6 separate regions of the Homo sapiens genome follow, and regions 2, 3, 4, 5 and 6 are each linked to region 1. Evidence: promoter capture Hi-C in 16 types of primary human blood cells and fetal thymus (Javierre and others, 2016). All regions are on one chromosome and are shown on one strand. The core of a region is centred on a gene start or on the middle of the fragment in contact, and the rest is flanking DNA. Distances in the headings are between cores, read along the strand shown.

Evidence for each region. Contacts are between HindIII fragments. The CHiCAGO score rates a contact against its expected background, and 5 or more counts as called.
Region 2: a contact is called between a fragment that was not itself captured here and the fragment with the promoter of GJB6 in region 1, in 2 of 17 cell types (M0 macrophages and M1 macrophages). The highest score is 6.3, in M0 macrophages.
Region 3: a fragment that was not itself captured here is called in contact with the fragment with the promoter of GJB6 in region 1 in 1 of 17 cell types (M1 macrophages); the score reaches 5.4 in M1 macrophages.
Region 4: a fragment that was not itself captured here is called in contact with the fragment with the promoter of GJB6 in region 1 in 2 of 17 cell types (M0 macrophages and M2 macrophages); the score reaches 6.6 in M0 macrophages.
Region 5: a fragment that was not itself captured here is called in contact with the fragment with the promoter of GJB6 in region 1 in 2 of 17 cell types (M0 macrophages and M1 macrophages); the score reaches 5.9 in M0 macrophages.
Region 6: a fragment that was not itself captured here is called in contact with the fragment with the promoter of GJB6 in region 1 in 3 of 17 cell types (M0 macrophages, M1 macrophages and M2 macrophages); the score reaches 8.6 in M0 macrophages.

What each region holds. Positions count from the first base shown.
Region 1 is chr13:20,230,888-20,233,587 of GRCh38, forward strand. It overlaps GJB6 (gap junction protein beta 6), which reads right to left and starts at 1,432. Exons shown (of 5, transcript NM_001110219.3): 1 at 1,307-1,432; 2 at 495-618. The HindIII fragment of the contact is 2,257 bases long and covers 837-2,700 here.
Region 2 is chr13:20,386,887-20,389,586 of GRCh38, forward strand. No RefSeq gene overlaps it. Among named protein-coding and RNA genes, the nearest start is that of MIR4499, 46 kb to the right of the region's middle. The HindIII fragment of the contact is 1,245 bases long and covers 766-2,010 here.
Region 3 is chr13:20,452,568-20,455,267 of GRCh38, forward strand. The region is part of intron 3 of CRYL1 (crystallin lambda 1); the gene reads right to left. Among named protein-coding and RNA genes, the nearest start is that of MIR4499, 20 kb to the left of the region's middle. The HindIII fragment of the contact is 7,348 bases long and covers 1-2,700 here.
Region 4 is chr13:20,366,767-20,369,466 of GRCh38, forward strand. No RefSeq gene overlaps it. Among named protein-coding and RNA genes, the nearest start is that of MIR4499, 66 kb to the right of the region's middle. The HindIII fragment of the contact is 890 bases long and covers 986-1,875 here.
Region 5 is chr13:20,435,467-20,438,166 of GRCh38, forward strand. All of the region lies in intron 4 of CRYL1 (crystallin lambda 1), which reads right to left. Among named protein-coding and RNA genes, the nearest start is that of MIR4499, 3.0 kb to the left of the region's middle. The HindIII fragment of the contact is 4,325 bases long and covers 1-2,700 here.
Region 6 is chr13:20,413,086-20,415,785 of GRCh38, forward strand. It overlaps CRYL1 (crystallin lambda 1), which reads right to left. Exons shown (of 8, transcript NM_015974.3): 6 at 197-302. Among named protein-coding and RNA genes, the nearest start is that of MIR4499, 19 kb to the right of the region's middle. RefSeq lists enhancers at 1-275, 2,193-2,700. The HindIII fragment of the contact is 5,121 bases long and covers 1-2,700 here.

The sequences.
Region 1 (2,700 bases), core at 182-2,681:
AACAACCAGTGGGGCAGGTGAACTGACCAGCGTCTTCCCAGCTTTAGTCACTGCAGTGGCAATGAGGCGCTCTCCACACCCCCAGTTATGTGACAGGCTAGAGCCCTGGTGTTCTCTCTTCAGAACCCCCCTCTCCTCCTTGGCAAGCTTCAAGCAACACCCCCAAAGACGCTGCTGGATCCAAACAACAGACAAAGCTCTCCACAGGAGCAGTTCTGAGCAGCACCCTGCAATTCTAAGGAGACTGCATGGGGGCAGGACATTTTCTTCTAGAACACTGGTTAGATTCTGCTAGAACTGGGGCAAGAAAATAGCTGTATGGCATAAAGTCTACTTGAGGGAAAAGAACAACCCGGCACGGTTACGTTCAATCAGACACTAAACAGAGTGCACGCCCACCCAGGGGACACTGAGGTCGCTGGGCCAGTGTCCCCGCCTGGTTGCAGGTCCCTAACCCCTCCGGGAGTGCAGAGCTGCGGGCAGGCCACACTCACCCTGACCCTTCCTGCTCCCCAGGAAGGGAGGTCAGCCCCGTTTGCAAAACACAGGATGCCCGTGACACCGGAGACAGGTCTTCTTCACCGACAGGAAGTGCCTTCTGGTGCCTGCACGTTTTAACTAAGATGTGTCGCCAATTACTTTTAATTACTGTCGTCCACGCTATTGTCATCAGCATTTCACAAGTTTCTCGGAAGCCCATCACGCAGCCCATACCCTGCGGTTCTCCGGGGACTTATGCATCGGCCCAAGTTGAGGGTTTGTCTGAACTGAAACCCGCATCCTAGACCTGGCTTTCTTCTCCCCAAATCCAAGGGGACACCCCGGTGACCCACAAAAGCTTAGAAAATCCAACACGCAGCAAATGAAACGGGGGAAAGGGGCACCGGCCCTCACTCTGGCCTCTTAGACACACGATATGAAACCTTCATAAAACCTGTTGTACAAGTCAAAGGGGACCACGCTGGGGTAAAAGTCAAACCAGTCCATCCTCGTTCCTCTGCGTACAGAGAGAGGGTCCAGCGCGGGCGGCGCCCACTGCCATCGGGCCGGGGCCGGGGCGCGTGGACAGGAGGGTGCGGATAGAGGCAGATCGGGGGCCCGGTCGCCCCACGTGCGGCCAGACACCCATCCCGGCCGCGCTCTGCCGGCTCTGATCCGGTGCCAGACAGGAGCGACAGGGGCGAGGTGGGGACCAGCCGCCGACCTCACCTGTTTTGTTTTCTTGGAGGAAATTCCTCCGCTGGGGGGCCGAGGTGGCACCGCCCGCTCGCCCCCCGCAAGACCCAGCCGGTCCGCGCCCGCTTACCTGCTCTGCGGCCGGCGGCCCTGGCGCGGGCTCTGCGCGGGGCGGCGCCCTTCGCTCCGGCTGGGCAGGCAGGTCGGGCTCGGGCGCCGCCGGCTGTCGGGCTCTCGTCGGGTTTCGGGTGAAGGCCCCGGCTCCCACCTGCTGCGCCTTTTAACCGCGCCCCACCCCGCCTCTGCCCTGACGCGGCTCGGGCGGGCTGCGGGAGGCGAGCGCTGTCACTCGACGAGCCCCCCGCCCCCACCTACCCGGGGCGCACTAGCCGCTGGGCGCGGACCGTCCCCCTGAGGAGCAAGGAGTGCAGGACCGGGGCTGTCCCTCCGGGGCCGGATGCGCAGAGCGGGGACCTTTTTCCCGTGGCGGGGGCGCAGGGTGGGGGACCCCTAAGAAGTGCACAGTGCGCGGGGCCCTCTTTCCGGCCCTTGGAGGGAACGGGGTACCGGGGATGCAGGGGGTAGGGCTCTCCCTCGGGAGCGCAGAGGGCGGGCCCAGCCCCCTCTGCACGGGTGCAGGTGTGGGGCGCCTGCTCAGGCCCTCGAGGGAACTCTTCCTCCCTAGTGCACCCGTGGGGAGCAGTGTGAGGGGCAGGCTGTGTTTTTGCCAGGACACATCCTCAGTCTTTCTGGGTGATCCAGCCTTCTCATAGCCCGCGGGGTGCACAGACCTCTCCTATAGGAGCCTGGAGGTTCTTTATTAATTAATGACCACTTAGAGGAGGTACAGGGGTTGTTTTTATTAATTACCTCCATCCTTTGAAGACTCCTCCGGGGAAGCGGAGCAGGCCTTCCTCGGGACAGTGCACCAGGAGAGACCACATTGCCTCCCCGCTTTTCAGTCAAGACTAGAAAGCTCAGGGCCAGTACAGGGAGTGGTGCAAGGGCTGGTGGGGTGGAAACGTTGGAAGCTATTTAGGCACCTGGCTTTACAGGTTCAAACCTGTCACGCATCGGACAAAAGATGTGTGACTTGCTTATTCTACAAAACTGTTCGGTAATTAAACGTCCCCACCTAAACCATATGCCACTTGTTGGGTCATATTCTCCCACGAAACAATTAAGATGTCTGTTAAAGGTCATGGAATTTGAGCCAAGACTTCATAAAAATCCGCTTTCCAAAATATTTTATTTGAGGAGAACAAGGTTCTTAAAGAATTTGCCCAAGTCAAGTTTTAAAAACTTTGGGGAGGCCCCTGAAATGGCCTTGAACTTGGAGAGTGGAGAGACACAGAAATCTCTAGGCTTTTTAAATTTATTTATTTATTTATTTATTTATTTATTTATTTATTTATTTTGACTAAGTCTGGCTCTGTTGCCCAGGCTGGAGTGTGGTGGTGTGATCTCAGCTCATTGCAACCTCTGCCTCCCGGGTTCAAGTGATTCTCCTGCCTCAGCTTCCCG
Region 2 (2,700 bases), core at 138-2,637, 160 kb after region 1:
TGTAAGTCCATTAAACCTCTTTCTTTTGTAAATTGCCCAGTCTCAGGCACGACTTTATCAGCAGCATGAAAACAGACTAATTCAGTGAATGATGCTGAGGTTTGGGGTAGAGATGCCATCACCCAGGTAGCAAGTATAGTACCAAACAGGTAGTTTTTCAACCCATGCTCCCCATTCTCCTCCCCTCCACTCCCCACTCTAGTCTGTGTATGCTCAATGTTTAGCTCCCACTTAGAAGTGAGAACATGCAGTATTTGATTTTCTGTTCTGCAGTTATTATTCTTACTGACGCCAACACCATTCGCTCTTTGGGCATTAGCACCCCCGCCCCGGGTTGGCTTTGAGCTGACCTGACTTGCCCCGCTGCTCTGGGGAGCTTCTTTGCTTAACAGTATCCTCTTTCTGAGTTTTTCAGATGGTGGCCCAGTACTTTCTCACAATCTTGTTTTATCTCCTCTCTGCCTTTAAGATTTTTATAGATTCATTTTTGTTTGTTTGGCCTTGGTAGAAGTTAAGATACCTGATCATAGGTTTATTTAACAAGTATTTGCTGAGAACCTGCTTAGTGCTAGATGCTACAGGAAACAAGATGATGAATCAAGAATGACTGATGCCCTTAAAGAATTTGCAGTCAGCTAGGGGAGTCGGAAACAAGAGCACCGTGGCTGCTGGGCAGGATGGAGACGTGATGCATGTAAGTTCAAGCAGAGTTTCAAGGAAATTGGCAGGGACGGGGCAGGCTTCAACAGGGAAGTGGCGCCGGGAAGCTTGAGCAGGATTTGGGCATTCTGACATGGGGAAGGCATTACCTTCTTCCCCTTTAGTTGTGTCTGGCACATGGACTCAGCAGAGGCTGTTGGGAATGTTCTGAGATCACATACCAGCAGCCTCCTAACCCAAGCCGACCCAAAAGAGACATGCCCCCAAGAAAGGATTCCGGACTGCACCTGGTGGCCTGTATTTCTAGTATTTCACAATATTCACAAGTCTTCTAGCCTCTACACAAAAATACCAAGTGCAGAAGAGGAAACATTTTCTGACCACAACCACTCCTCTGTGGAGCCTCTTAGATTAATCCTCACAAGAGGCCTAAGACAAATTTTCATCTAATATATACTTTTCTACAGCCAGCTCCTGGAATAAAAGAGAGAAAGTAGAAGTGAAGTTATTCTGGGAATTATTCGGGTGAAAACAAAACCAAAACAAAACAGAAAAAGTAGCATGGTTTATCTGAGGACACAAAATTAGAAGGCAATTTTTCCAAAAAGGTAAGAAGATCATTTCAGATCTTCACATGGGGGGAAAAAAGAATGTCAGCCCAGAGCACAGGACTGGGCAGGAACCCCAGTGCCCTGTGGGCCAGGCTGGCTGGGAGCCCCCACGCTGGGCCCAGGAAAGGCCAGGCTGGCTTTAGTGTGGCCCAGGTCCCAGAGCCTTCCCCTGGTTTGGTTAGGGAGCTATGGGGCCAAAAGGAGCCAGACTTTTAGGGAGGAAATTGAATTCTCAGTCAGTATGCTGGGTGGGGCGGTGATCTAACACACTTGGGCCTAGAGATCTAAAAAATGCAGAAACACCAAGGCTAAGGGAAAGTGAACAGAAGGAGCCCTACTGCAGCCAAATACAAACCACCTTCCCCAGAGGAGGCTAACCTCTTCACCAAGGAAAAAAAGCAAAGGCCACCAGCTGAACTTGAAGGGCACCTGGGACCCACTGCCCTTCCTCTCTGCTTCTTCCCTCCTTTGTCTCTCCCTTCCCTTTCCTCCCCTCCCCAAGTCTGCTACTTTCCCTGAACCCTGGACTGATGTCCTGGACAGATGTCCTGGACAGGAGGGACTTTCAAGCAGAGTGCCAGGCATCCTTGTTGTGTCCGGAATTGGTTCCTTCCAGTAGGTTTGTGGTCTCGCTGACTTCAAGAATGAAGCCGTGGACCTTCGCGGTGTTACAGCTCTTAAAGGTGGCATGGACTCAAAAAGTGAGCAGCAGCAAGATTTATTGTGAGCAAAAGAACAAAGCTTCCACAGCATGGAAGGGGACCCCAGCAAGTTGCCGCTGCTGGCTGGAGTGGCCAGCTTTTAGTCCCTTATTTGTCCCTGCCCATGTCTTGCTGGTTGGTCCATTTTACAGAGTGCTGATTGGTCCATTTTACAAACCTCTAGCTAACTACAGAGTGCTGATTGGTGCGTTTTTACAGAGCACTGATTGGTGCATTTTACAAACCTCTAGCTAGCTACAGAGCACCCATTGGTGCGTTTTTACAGAGCACTGATGGGTGCATTTTTTTTTTTTTTTGAGACAGCCTTGCTGTGTCACCCAGGCTGGAGTGCAGTGGTGTCATCTCTGCTCACTGCAAGCTCCGCCTCCCAGGTTCACGCCATTCTCCTGCCTCAGCCTCCCGAGTAGCTGGGACTACAGGCGCCCGTCACCAAGCCCGGCTAATTTTTTGTATTTTTAGTGAGACAGGGTTTCACCATGTTAGCCAGGATGGTCTCGATCTCCTGACCTCGTGATCCACCCGCCTCAGCCTCCCAAAGTGTTGGGATTACAGGCATGAGCCACCATGCCTGGCCTGATCGGTGCATTTTACAAACCACTTGTAAGACAGAAAAGTTCTCCAAGTCCCCACATTACCCAGGAAGTCCAGCTGGCTTCGCCTCTCATTGTGACATGGGAATCAATCCTGTCCAGAGCCACCTTAAACAT
Region 3 (2,700 bases), core at 138-2,637, 220 kb after region 1:
AGCAGAGTACAGAGGATTTTTAGGGCTGTGACAATACTGTGTATGATACTATATTGATGGATACATGTCAATATACATTTGTCAAAACCTATAGGATGCATAATACCAAAAGTGAACTCTAATATAAACTATGGACTTTGGGTGATTAATATGTGTCAATGTAGGTTCATCAACTGTAATAAATGTGCCATTCTGGTGGGAGTTGCTGATAATGGGGGAGGCTATACATGCGTAGGGGCAGAGGCTTTATGGGAAATCTCTGTCCCTTCTTCTTAATTTTCCTGTGGAACTAAAGCTGCTCTAAAAAAGTGTTATATTGGATTTAACATATTTTGGGTATTAAATACAATTTCTAAAATGTTTAAATTTAGATGAATTTTAAAATTAGTTTTTTCTAATTTCATAATGTAAAAACAGAATTGAAAGGAGAAATAAACAAATCCACGATTACTGCTGGAGACCTCAATAACTTTCTTTCTCAGAACAAGATTTAAAAATCAATAAGATTATAGCAGAGCTGAATAACATTATCAACCAACTTGATCTACTTGACATTCAGAGACCTCTCCACCCAAGAGTAGAATGCCTGACTTTTCCAAGTTCACATGTAATATTTACCAAGATAGATTATAGTCTGGCCATGAAACAAAACTTAAAAGAATAGAAATCAAACAAAGTATGTTCTCTGGCCATAATTGAATTGAAGTGGAAGTCTATGAGAAAAGAATATCTAGGAAATCCCCAAATATGTGGAAATTAACCAAGACACTTCCAAATAATCTACAGTCAAGGTGAAATTCTCATGGGAAATTAGAATATTTTGAAATATTTTGAATATTTTGAAATATTCTAATATATTTGAATATTTTGAAATATTCTAATATATTTGAATATTTTGAAAATGAAAACACAATATATTAAATCATTGGATTCAACTAAAGCAATGCTGAGAGGAAAATGTATAGCATTATATATTTACATTAATAAAGAAGAATATCTCAAATCGTTAATCCAACCCTCTATCTTCAGAAACTGAAAAAAAGCAAATTAAATACAAAGAAAGGAAGAAGAAAACAATAAAAGTAAAAGCAGAAATCAATGAAATTGAAAACAGAAAAACAACAGAAACAAATCAATGAAATCAAATCTGGTTTCTTAGGGAAAAAACAGTAACACTGACAAACTTCAAGGCAGACTGACCAATAAAAAGAGAGAAGACACAAATTGCCAATATGAAGAACGAAAGAGGGGACATCACTGCCAGTCCTATAGTCATTAAAAGAATAATAAAGCAATATTATGAATAATTATTTATGCCAAGAAATCCTACAACTTAGAACAAATGGACTGATTACTTGAAAGACACAAACTGCCAAAACTCACTTAAGAAATAATAGAAAACCTCATTAGTCTATTTATAGGAAAGTAATTAAATTTGTAGTTCAAAATCTATCAACACAGAAAACTCCAGGCCCAGGGTTTGCCACATTCAGCCAAACATTTAAAGAACTACTGCCAATCTTTACAATCTCTTTCAGAAAATAAAGAAGAAACATTTCCCAACTCATTCTATGAAGGCAGAATCACCGTAATATCAAAATATTAGACAAAGACATTACATGGGGAAAAAAAATCTATTCCAAACACATATGCAAAAAAAATCTCAACAAAAAAGGATAGTGCGTTATGACCAACTGGAGTTTATCCCAGGAATGCAAGACTGGTTCAACTTTTTAAAATCAATCAATGTCATTCATGATATAAACAGATTTAAAAAGAACAATTATGTGATCATCCCAATAGATGTAAAAAAAAAAATCAGTTCACAAAATTCAACCCCCATTCGTGTTTGTTTTTTTTTTTTTTTGAGATGGAGTCTTGCTCTTGTCGCCCAGGCTGGAGTGCAGTGGTGCGATCTCGGCTCACTGCAAGCTCCGCCTCTGAAGTTCACGCCATTCTTCTGCCTCAGCCTCCTGAGTAGCTGGGACTACACGCGCCTGCCACCACACCCGGCTAATTTTTTTCGTATTTTTAGTAGAGACGGGGTTTCACCGTGTTCGCCAGGATGGCCTCCATCTCCTGACCTCATGATCCACCCGCCTCGGCCTCCCAAAGTGCTGGGATTACAGGCGTGAGCCACCGCACCCGACCCATTCATGATATTTTTTAAAACTCTCAGCAATCTAGGAATAGATGGGAATCCCTTTAACATGATGAAAGGTAGCTATTATTCCTATGCTAACATCACACTTAATGGTGAAAAATTCAAGGCTTTCCTCCTTAACATTGGGAATAAGGCAAGCTGTCTCACTCTGTCGCCCAGGCTGGACAGATTCTATTCCGGAATAGAATTTTATTCCACATCATATTGATGTCCTAGCCAGTGCAATAAGGCAAGAGAAAGATATAAAAAGCATATAGATTGAAAATGAAACTGTCTCTATTCACATAAGACATAAATGCCTACATAGAAAATCCCAAAGAATCTATGAAGAAGTCCAAGGACTAGTGAGCTCAGCAAGATTGCAGGATACAGGTCAATATAAAAAAACTGTATTTCTACACAGTAGCAATTAATAATGGAAAATCAAAAAAAATGTTAAATACCATTCACAATAGCACACATACACAAGAATTACTTAGGCATAAATCTAAAAAAATGCCTTAAATATGCAGGAAACCATGAAATGCTGATGAAAT
Region 4 (2,700 bases), core at 181-2,680, 140 kb after region 1:
GGCTGAGGCAGGAGAATCGCTTGAACCGGGGAAGTGGAGGTTGTGGTGAGCCAAGATCACGCTGTTGCACTCCAGCCCAGGCAACAAGAGTGAAACTCCATCTCAAAAAAAAAAAAAAAGAAAAGAAAAAGAAAAAGAAAAAGAAAGAACAATTGAAATGTGCACAGTAAGAATTCAAAGTAAAGGCCAGGCACAGTTTCTCACGCCTGTAATCCCAGCACTTTGGGAGGCTGAGGCAGGTGGATCATTTGAGGCCAGGAGTTCAAGACCAGCCGGGCCAATGTGGCGAAACACCATCTCTACTAAAAATACAAAAATTACCCAGGCGTGGTTGTGCACGCCTGTAATCCCAGCTACTCAGGAGGCTGAGGCATGAGAATCGCTTGAACAGAGGAGACTGCAGTGAGCTGAGATCATGCCACTGCACTCCAGCCTGGGCGACAGAGTGAGACTCTGTCTCAAAAACAACAACAACAACAAAAAAAAAAAAAAAAAAAAAAAAGAAAGAAAGAAAGAAATATGAAGGCCCATGTCAATGCCATGAATAAATCTTATTTTATTTAATATTTATTTAAAAGAATTCGCAATAAAAACACATCTTCATTGGTTTAGCGTTGTTGTAAAGGAATACCAGGGATGGGTTATTTATAAATAAAAAAGGTTTATTTGGCTCATGATTGTGATGTCGACAAAAGTTTGAGTTTGGGCGTCATCTGGCAAGGGCCGCAGGCTGCTTCCACTCGTGGCAGAAGGTGAACAGGCGCAGGTGTGTGTGGAGATTACATGGAGAGACAGGGAAAGAGAGGGAGAGAGAGGGAGGGAGAGGGAGCCAGTGCCAGGCTGTTTTTAGCAACCAACTCGCATGGGAACTAACAGAGCAAGAACTCACTCATTACCTTAAGGAGGGCGCCAAGCCATTCGTGAAGGACGCGCCCCCAGGACCCAAGCACCTCCCACCAGTTCCCACCTCCAACACTGGGGCTCAAGCTTCAACATGAGGTTTGGGGGACAAACAACCAAACTATAGCAAACACATTGAGAGCATGTCCAATAAGACGACTGAAGTTTGGGATAATGCTGCACCTTGGTCTGGGTTCTTAGTGCAGACTCTAATACAAGTGAGGTTCTAAAATTCACACACCCTCTGTCCATCCATCCCATCGCTGGGATATTCACTAGGATAAAATTGTGATTTATCATGAGCTTGAGCTAGAACAGCCAACACCTAGATTTCCTTAAATCTGTTTCTATTTCTTGCTCATTCCTCCTTTTCCATGCAAATTCTTATTTGTAGTAAGTAGCGCCACTCTTTTCCAGACCCCAGGTGTAATTAACTGTAGCAAAATGTGGTAAAAGACCGTATTTGTGGCTCTGAATATTAAAATCCAAAGGTGACCAGAAAATAATTGTTAACAGTTCTGGGTGGTTGTGCCAGAAAAATGACTCTGGCTCAGGAGGTGACATTTTTCAGACAGTGGTAAGGGAGGCTCGGTGATCCATTTGGTTCTGATGTTTAGGATAGGAGAGTGATCCTGGAGACTACATAGGATTTGGTTTTTTTTTTTTTTTTTTTTTTTAAAGTTCCATACCAAAATGTAGGCCTGTGGATGCTGATGGAACTCCAGGTAACACAGTGCCCAAAGTAGGCGTTTGTGTGCTTAGGTTACCACTGGGTCATAAAACAGCCACGTGGCAACTCCAGCCTTGGCTCGGGAGTTTGGTATAAGAGGAAAGTTGGTGGCTTTGCATTGGGTGCATGTTCATGTTTCGCCTGGATCATATCATTGTTCATCTTCCCCATTGAAGGCCCACCCCACAGGTAGTTTTTGCACTTTTTGATCTTGGCACCAGCAAAGCTGTTGCACGTGAGACACAAGCTTTAAGGTGGGAACCTGACGTAGGTCTTCAGTGGCCCAAATCAGGAAAGGAGTCGCTTCCCTGACCCGGGCACAGTTAAATAGATCCACAGCCCAGTGTGGACAACTTACTCTAGTTGACAACATGTGGTGGAGAAAAGGCCAAGGTTTCCTGAACAGCATATCTCTTCTAGAAAGAGCAATACTTCCTAAAAGTGCTGAGGTTGCCACAGTTGAAAAGTTCAGAAAAATGAAATTCAAGTGTAAATTTGTATGAAAGAGAGGGAGAAGGGTTCTTCCAGGAACCATTCAGAAAATGATGAGATAAATCACAGACTGAGAGAAAGTAGTTGCAGGACACATAATCTTCCAAGGACTTCTATCCAAAATATTTCAGAACTCTTACAAATCTCATAAACAAGCAAGCCATTAAAAATGGAAATTCAGAGGCTGAAGAGAGACAATCACTTGAAGACAGGAGTTAGAGACCAGCTTGGGCAACATAGTGAGACTCTATCTCTAAAAAAAGTTTTAAATAAAAGTTTAAAACAATTTTAATTTAAAAAATTGGAATCAGAAAATAGAAGAAGATATACATATGGCCAAAAAGCACATGAAAAGATCCTCAACATCATCATCAGAAAATGTTAATTACCATGTTAGGGTATCTTCATATCCACTAGAATGGCTAAAATTGAGAAGATCAGTGTATTAAGTGCTGACAAAGATATGGAGCAACTGAAACTCTTTTTTTTTTTCCAGACAGGGTCTCGCTCTGTTGCCCAGGCTACAGTGCAATGGCACAATCATGGATCACTGCAGTCTCAACCTCCTAGGCTCAAGC
Region 5 (2,700 bases), core at 122-2,621, 200 kb after region 1:
CGGCTGGGAAACAGTCTCCCTAACCACAGCCCTCAGCCTCTGGCCCAAGAGGTCAATCTTGTCAATAAGGTCGGGTGCCCCTTGAATTTACCACAGTAGAGGGGAGGAGAGGAGGCGAGACAGGAGAGGAGGCAGCTCCCCCGCCCCAAACCTTCCATGTGGGAGTGTGCGAGGTGGACTCGGAAACACGCCCCCGAAAGGGTTCGACAGATACAACGGCAGCGCAGCGCAGGGGCCTGGGCCTGCGCAGGCCGGCGGAGCACAAGGGACGCATTCTTCCCCGCCGCCCGGGCCCCATGTGACCGCGCCGACAGCGCGGCTGCCCACAGAGACTCCCTTCACCCCCGCTCCGGGAGCAACCAAAACGGCGAGGCCCACAGGGCCGACAGCGCCCTCGCGGGAGGCAGCCGGGCTGGGGCCTCTTGCCAGCCCTCGGTGTTCGATGCTTCATGGGTAGCCCATCCTCTCGGCGGCGCGCTCGCAGGGAGGGCTCAAAGGCAGCTCGGAGCGGCCGCAGGGCCGTGCAGATGTGCAAAGAGACGCACAGAGCACGGGCGCTTTGCAGACAGCAAGCCCATACATCCAATATTTACCACCAATACCAGGGCAGATGACTTCGGTGTGAGACGTGAGGTGAGTTCGAAAAGGCCACGCACAAGCAAGGGGCGGGGGAGCGGGCTAACTGGTGGCCTCTCCCCCAACGCCCACCGCACGCCCCAGTCTGCCAGCCGCGGCCCCCTTCCCAAGCAGGCCTGTCCATACAGCACAGTACTTGGTGGGCTCCGAAGACCCCACCAGCCCTGTCGGACCATCGCCTTCCCAGACTGAACTAAGGAAGAGAAAAAAGCAGGGAGCCTCTTTGTAAAGTGTGGCTAAACTATCAGTAGAAAACTGCCACTCTGTCAATGCTAACATAGAGCTCAGTAAGGACTGAGACTGCAGTGCAACATGCACACCGTTGTCACCCACAGGCCCCAGCCGTCACATTCTCCTCCCTCAGCCCCTCCACGTGGGAATTCGGGAGTCACTGCCACGAGGAGTTGAGGAAACAGCACAAAAGACACTGGAGAAGAAAATGTCCACAACAGAGCCGGGCCCAGCCTCTTCCTGGGCCTTCAGTGTGGCCGTCAGCAGCTCTAGTCCTGGAAGCCCACCCTAAAACCCAGCCTGAACTCCTGCGCTGGGAGTACGAGCCCGCCTGGCCAGCGCCTTTCCCCACTCACTGAGGGAACACGTGGCCGTGCAACGAGGGTTGCAGGCTTCTCTGTGTGGGCAGAGACAAGCAACCTTTCCAATTTGCTGAATATCCACTTTGGCACGGCATGAACAAGCCTCCTTTTTCTTCATCCTATTTTTGGCCCAGGCAGAAATCACTAATGATTGAAACAAAGGGCCCCAAGCAGGGACTGGGGGCTGCAGGGTGGGCTCCTAGCTGGCCTGGGGGTGCTTCTCGGAAACTGGTTCCTCAGAGATTACAAATGGGTCTTGATTCTGTAGGGACTGCCTGTCCAGTCCCCTAGAGGTCCCGTGGGGTGAGCAAGAGGTGGGGCCAGGTGTGGTGCCTTTGTCTTGTAATTCCATCACTTTGGGGAGGCTGAGACAGGAGGCTTGCTTGAGGCCAGAAGTTCAAGGCTGCAGTGAGCTTTGATGGCACCACTGCTCTCCAGCCTGGGTGAAAGAGCCACAGAGAAAGAATAAAAAAAGAGAGAGAGAGAGAGGTGGGCAGCTGGAACATAGAGGAAAGAAAGGGAAAGGTCCAAAGATGGCTAACTTGGGTTATTTGATTTGCTTTAATTAACATCGGTTTTGTTTAAAAATAATTTGTAACAATAAGGAAGATTAATTTTTTTTTTTTTTTTGAGATGGAGTCTCGCTCTGTCGCCCAGGCTGGAGTGCAGTGGCGCGATCTCGGCTCACTGCAAGCTCCACCTCCTGGGTTCACACCATTCTCCTGCCTCAGCCTCCCGAGTAGCTGGGACTACAGGCGACCGCCACCTCACCTGGCTAATTTTTTGTATTTTTAGTAGAGACGGGGTTTCACCGTGTTAGCCAGGATGGTTTCGATCTCCTGACCTCCTAATCCACCCACCTCGGCCTCCCAAAGGGGAAGATTAATTTTTAAAATAGGGTCTGGACTTTATGCTGTTTCATTAAATAAGTGAGCAATAGTGGGATGGAAAAAGAGTAGGAAGGAGGGAGAGAAGTGTCATTATTCAACAGTTACCAACTCCTGCTGGTCAAGGGACTGGGCTGGGTGTGAGGGAGAAGAAAGTGACTCAGGTGTCCTCTCACCCATCTGGCAATTTAAAATTAAAGAGATGCAGTAAACGTCTCGTCAAATAACTCAGGAGGTATTTTCTGAGCAACTTTATTTAGACTAGTTTTGTTTCAAACTAACTTAGAAGCAAGAACATGGGTTAGAAATTAGGAGGCTGACAGCTTCCACTGAAGCAATCAAGGAGCAACCTAGAAAGTGCTGAGGTCTCCAGGAGCCCTGTCCGTGGACATGTATATGTCACCAAAGCAAAGGCACGACAGGCTTCTCGGGACTTGCTTTCAATTAGGGTCCCTCGTAATGCTAATCTCACTCGTAATTGAGTGGTAACCAAATGTGACTGGTTCTCTTCTATTTTTATGCATCTCAGCCTCCTTATTTTATAACCATTCCTCATTCTTTCCATCGTATGTCCCAGGACCATG
Region 6 (2,700 bases), core at 146-2,645, 180 kb after region 1:
CATGCACTCCACATGGATTTACATCTCAGTACACAGCGTTTCGAATCCCTGCCTTGTCTGTGAATCACCAGGGCTGGCCATCATCTCCTATATACTGTCTCTATTCAGTTGTAAGAAAAGGCAAAATGTGACTGTTTACAAAACCCATGACAACACTAAATAGAATGGAATTCCCATCCTGGCCCCAGATGCATACCTTCTGCATTGAGATGCATGGTTTCCAGGGGTCCAATGAATGCATACCGCATGCCCAACCCTTCTGACATGACAAGGTCCAGGTCACTAGGAGACACGATTCCTTCCTACGTGGAGAAATTGGGCGGCATAGATGAGTTTTGTAAAAAGACAATTTCATGACCACCACTTCCATCCTAACTTCTTTAGAGCAGGATCCCAAAATCTTCTCCAAAGCACTATACAGGGTGAGTACCACTTACCGAATATGCTTATGACCAGACATGTTTTGGATGGCTGATATTTTTTAGATTTTGGAATATTAGCATATGCATAATGAGATATTTTGGGGATGGGAGCTGAGACTAAACACAAAATCTATTTCTGTTTCATATACACCTAGCCTGAAAGTAATTTTATATAATATTTTCAATAATTTTGTGCATGAAATAGTTTGTGTACACAAAACCATCAGAAAAGCAAAGGTATCACTATCTCATTTCAGTGCTCAAAAAGTTTTGGATTTTGGAGCATTTTGGATTTTGGATTTTCAGATTAGGGATGTTCAACCTATGATAGTGTTTTGATTGAATTTTGCATGACAAAACTATAATATTATCATATGTTATAAATGGCTTGGCGTGGTGGCTCACACCTGTAATCCCAGCACTTTCGGAGGCTGAGGTGGGGGATCACCTGAGGTCAGGAGTTCGAGACCAGCCTGGCCAACATGGTGAAACCCTGTCTCTACTAAAAATACAAAAAATTCGCCGGGCATGGTGGTGCATGCCTCTAGTCCCAGCTACTCAGGAGGCTGAGGCACGAGAATCACTTGAACCCAGGAGGCAGAAGTTGCAGTGAGCTGAGATCATGCCACTGCACTCCAGCCTGGGCATCAGAGCAAGACTCTGTTTCAAAATAAATAAATAAATAAAAATTAAAAAAATACACACACACACACACACACACATATGTATACACTAAAAAGAGATTTTTTGTGTGTGTGTGTGTGTGTGTGAAATGGTCAAACACAAATTCACCTTTTCCATCCCTGCAATCTACTAGGGGTTGAAATCAATTCCTCTTGACCTCCCTGCCTCCTTAGCTCACCCTACAACCTACGGACCGCCTGCAGCTGCAGGGAGTGAGAGAAGCTGACGACAAGGGGAGCGTGAGGACGGGGCATCGTAGTAAAAGGACATGAAGGATTTTCTAGATTTCTGCCTAGGACCCAGGGGGGAGTAAGATTAGAGCCATCAAAAGACGTGGGAAGGTGCTCTCCAGGCTTCACATGCCTGCAAGTCCGGCCTTGTTCAGCTTTTAATGAGTTCGTAAAAAGTGATATTCTTTGATGAAATGCAGCTTAGAACCATGGGTTTGTTTGCTAAGGTGGGGCCCTGGAATCTTCTGCAATGTAAATTGCAAAGCAAGAGGCAAGTTGTTATGTATTAAGGTTAGACGTCTGATCAGCCACCTGTGTTCCTTGGCCTCACGTGGCTTTGGGATGGAGGCAGGCAAGCGCAGATAATGATCTGCAAGAGCTGCGCTCCACTGAGGTCCCTCCCGTCAGAGGATGCCTCCCCCTTGGGCATTTCCACTGTCAGGAGGGCGGACGGAGGGAAGCCGCCACCTTTTCCCCTACGCCTTCACGGCTCAGACAGGCAGCACTCCCGCGGAATCCGCCGCCCCAGGTCTCATCTGAGCGCTGTCTTTCACCAGAGCTCTGTAGGACTGAGGCAGTAGCGCTGGCCCGCCTGCGAGAGCCCGACCGTGGACGATGCGTCGCGCCCTTCCCATCGCGGCCTGGGCGGGCCCGCCTGCCCTCGGCTGAGCCCGGTTTCCCTACCCCGGGGCACCTCCCCTCGCCCGCACCCGGCCCCAGTCCCTCCCAGGCTTGCGGGTAGAGCCTGTCTTTGCCCAGAAGGCCGTCTCCAAGCTGGGGGCTTGCTCCGCCCGGAGGGCTCTGCGGGGACCCTGGCACAGCGGCCTGCAGGGAGGCACCCTCTGCCCTGCTGCGAGCCTGGGGCGCCTGGGCCTGGCCTCGAGGTTCCTGGGCCTCCAGGGCAGCCCCAGGGGTCCCCCGAGAAGCGAGAAAAGGGGTTCGAAACCCCCGCCGTGCCCCGCAACCGGCTGCGGCGGGCGACAGCCAGGTGCCTCAGGTCCGTGTGCTGGCTTGGACACCGCCCTGCGTCTGCAGAGAGCGCGGCGGTGAAGCGGGAGCAGGCGGCCTGGCCCAGGAGCCAGGACGGCCACAGCCACGCCACCACCGGCGAGGGCGAGGGCCAGGGCCACTCACTGTGACCCGCGACTCCCTTTTAGAGAGCCACTTTGCGTTTCGTTTTGTTTGCGCACACGGGACACAAGCATATCGAGGCTGAACAAGCCACAGTCCACGTTTCCAGGAGAATTACAAAGCAAACGCTTGGCCTCGCCTGCCGCAGACTCCGCCCGCTTCTAGAGGCCCGCACCCTGACTCCTGCAATTGCGGCTTTCCCGCTTTTCAGACTGGCCGCCCGTGTTCACATT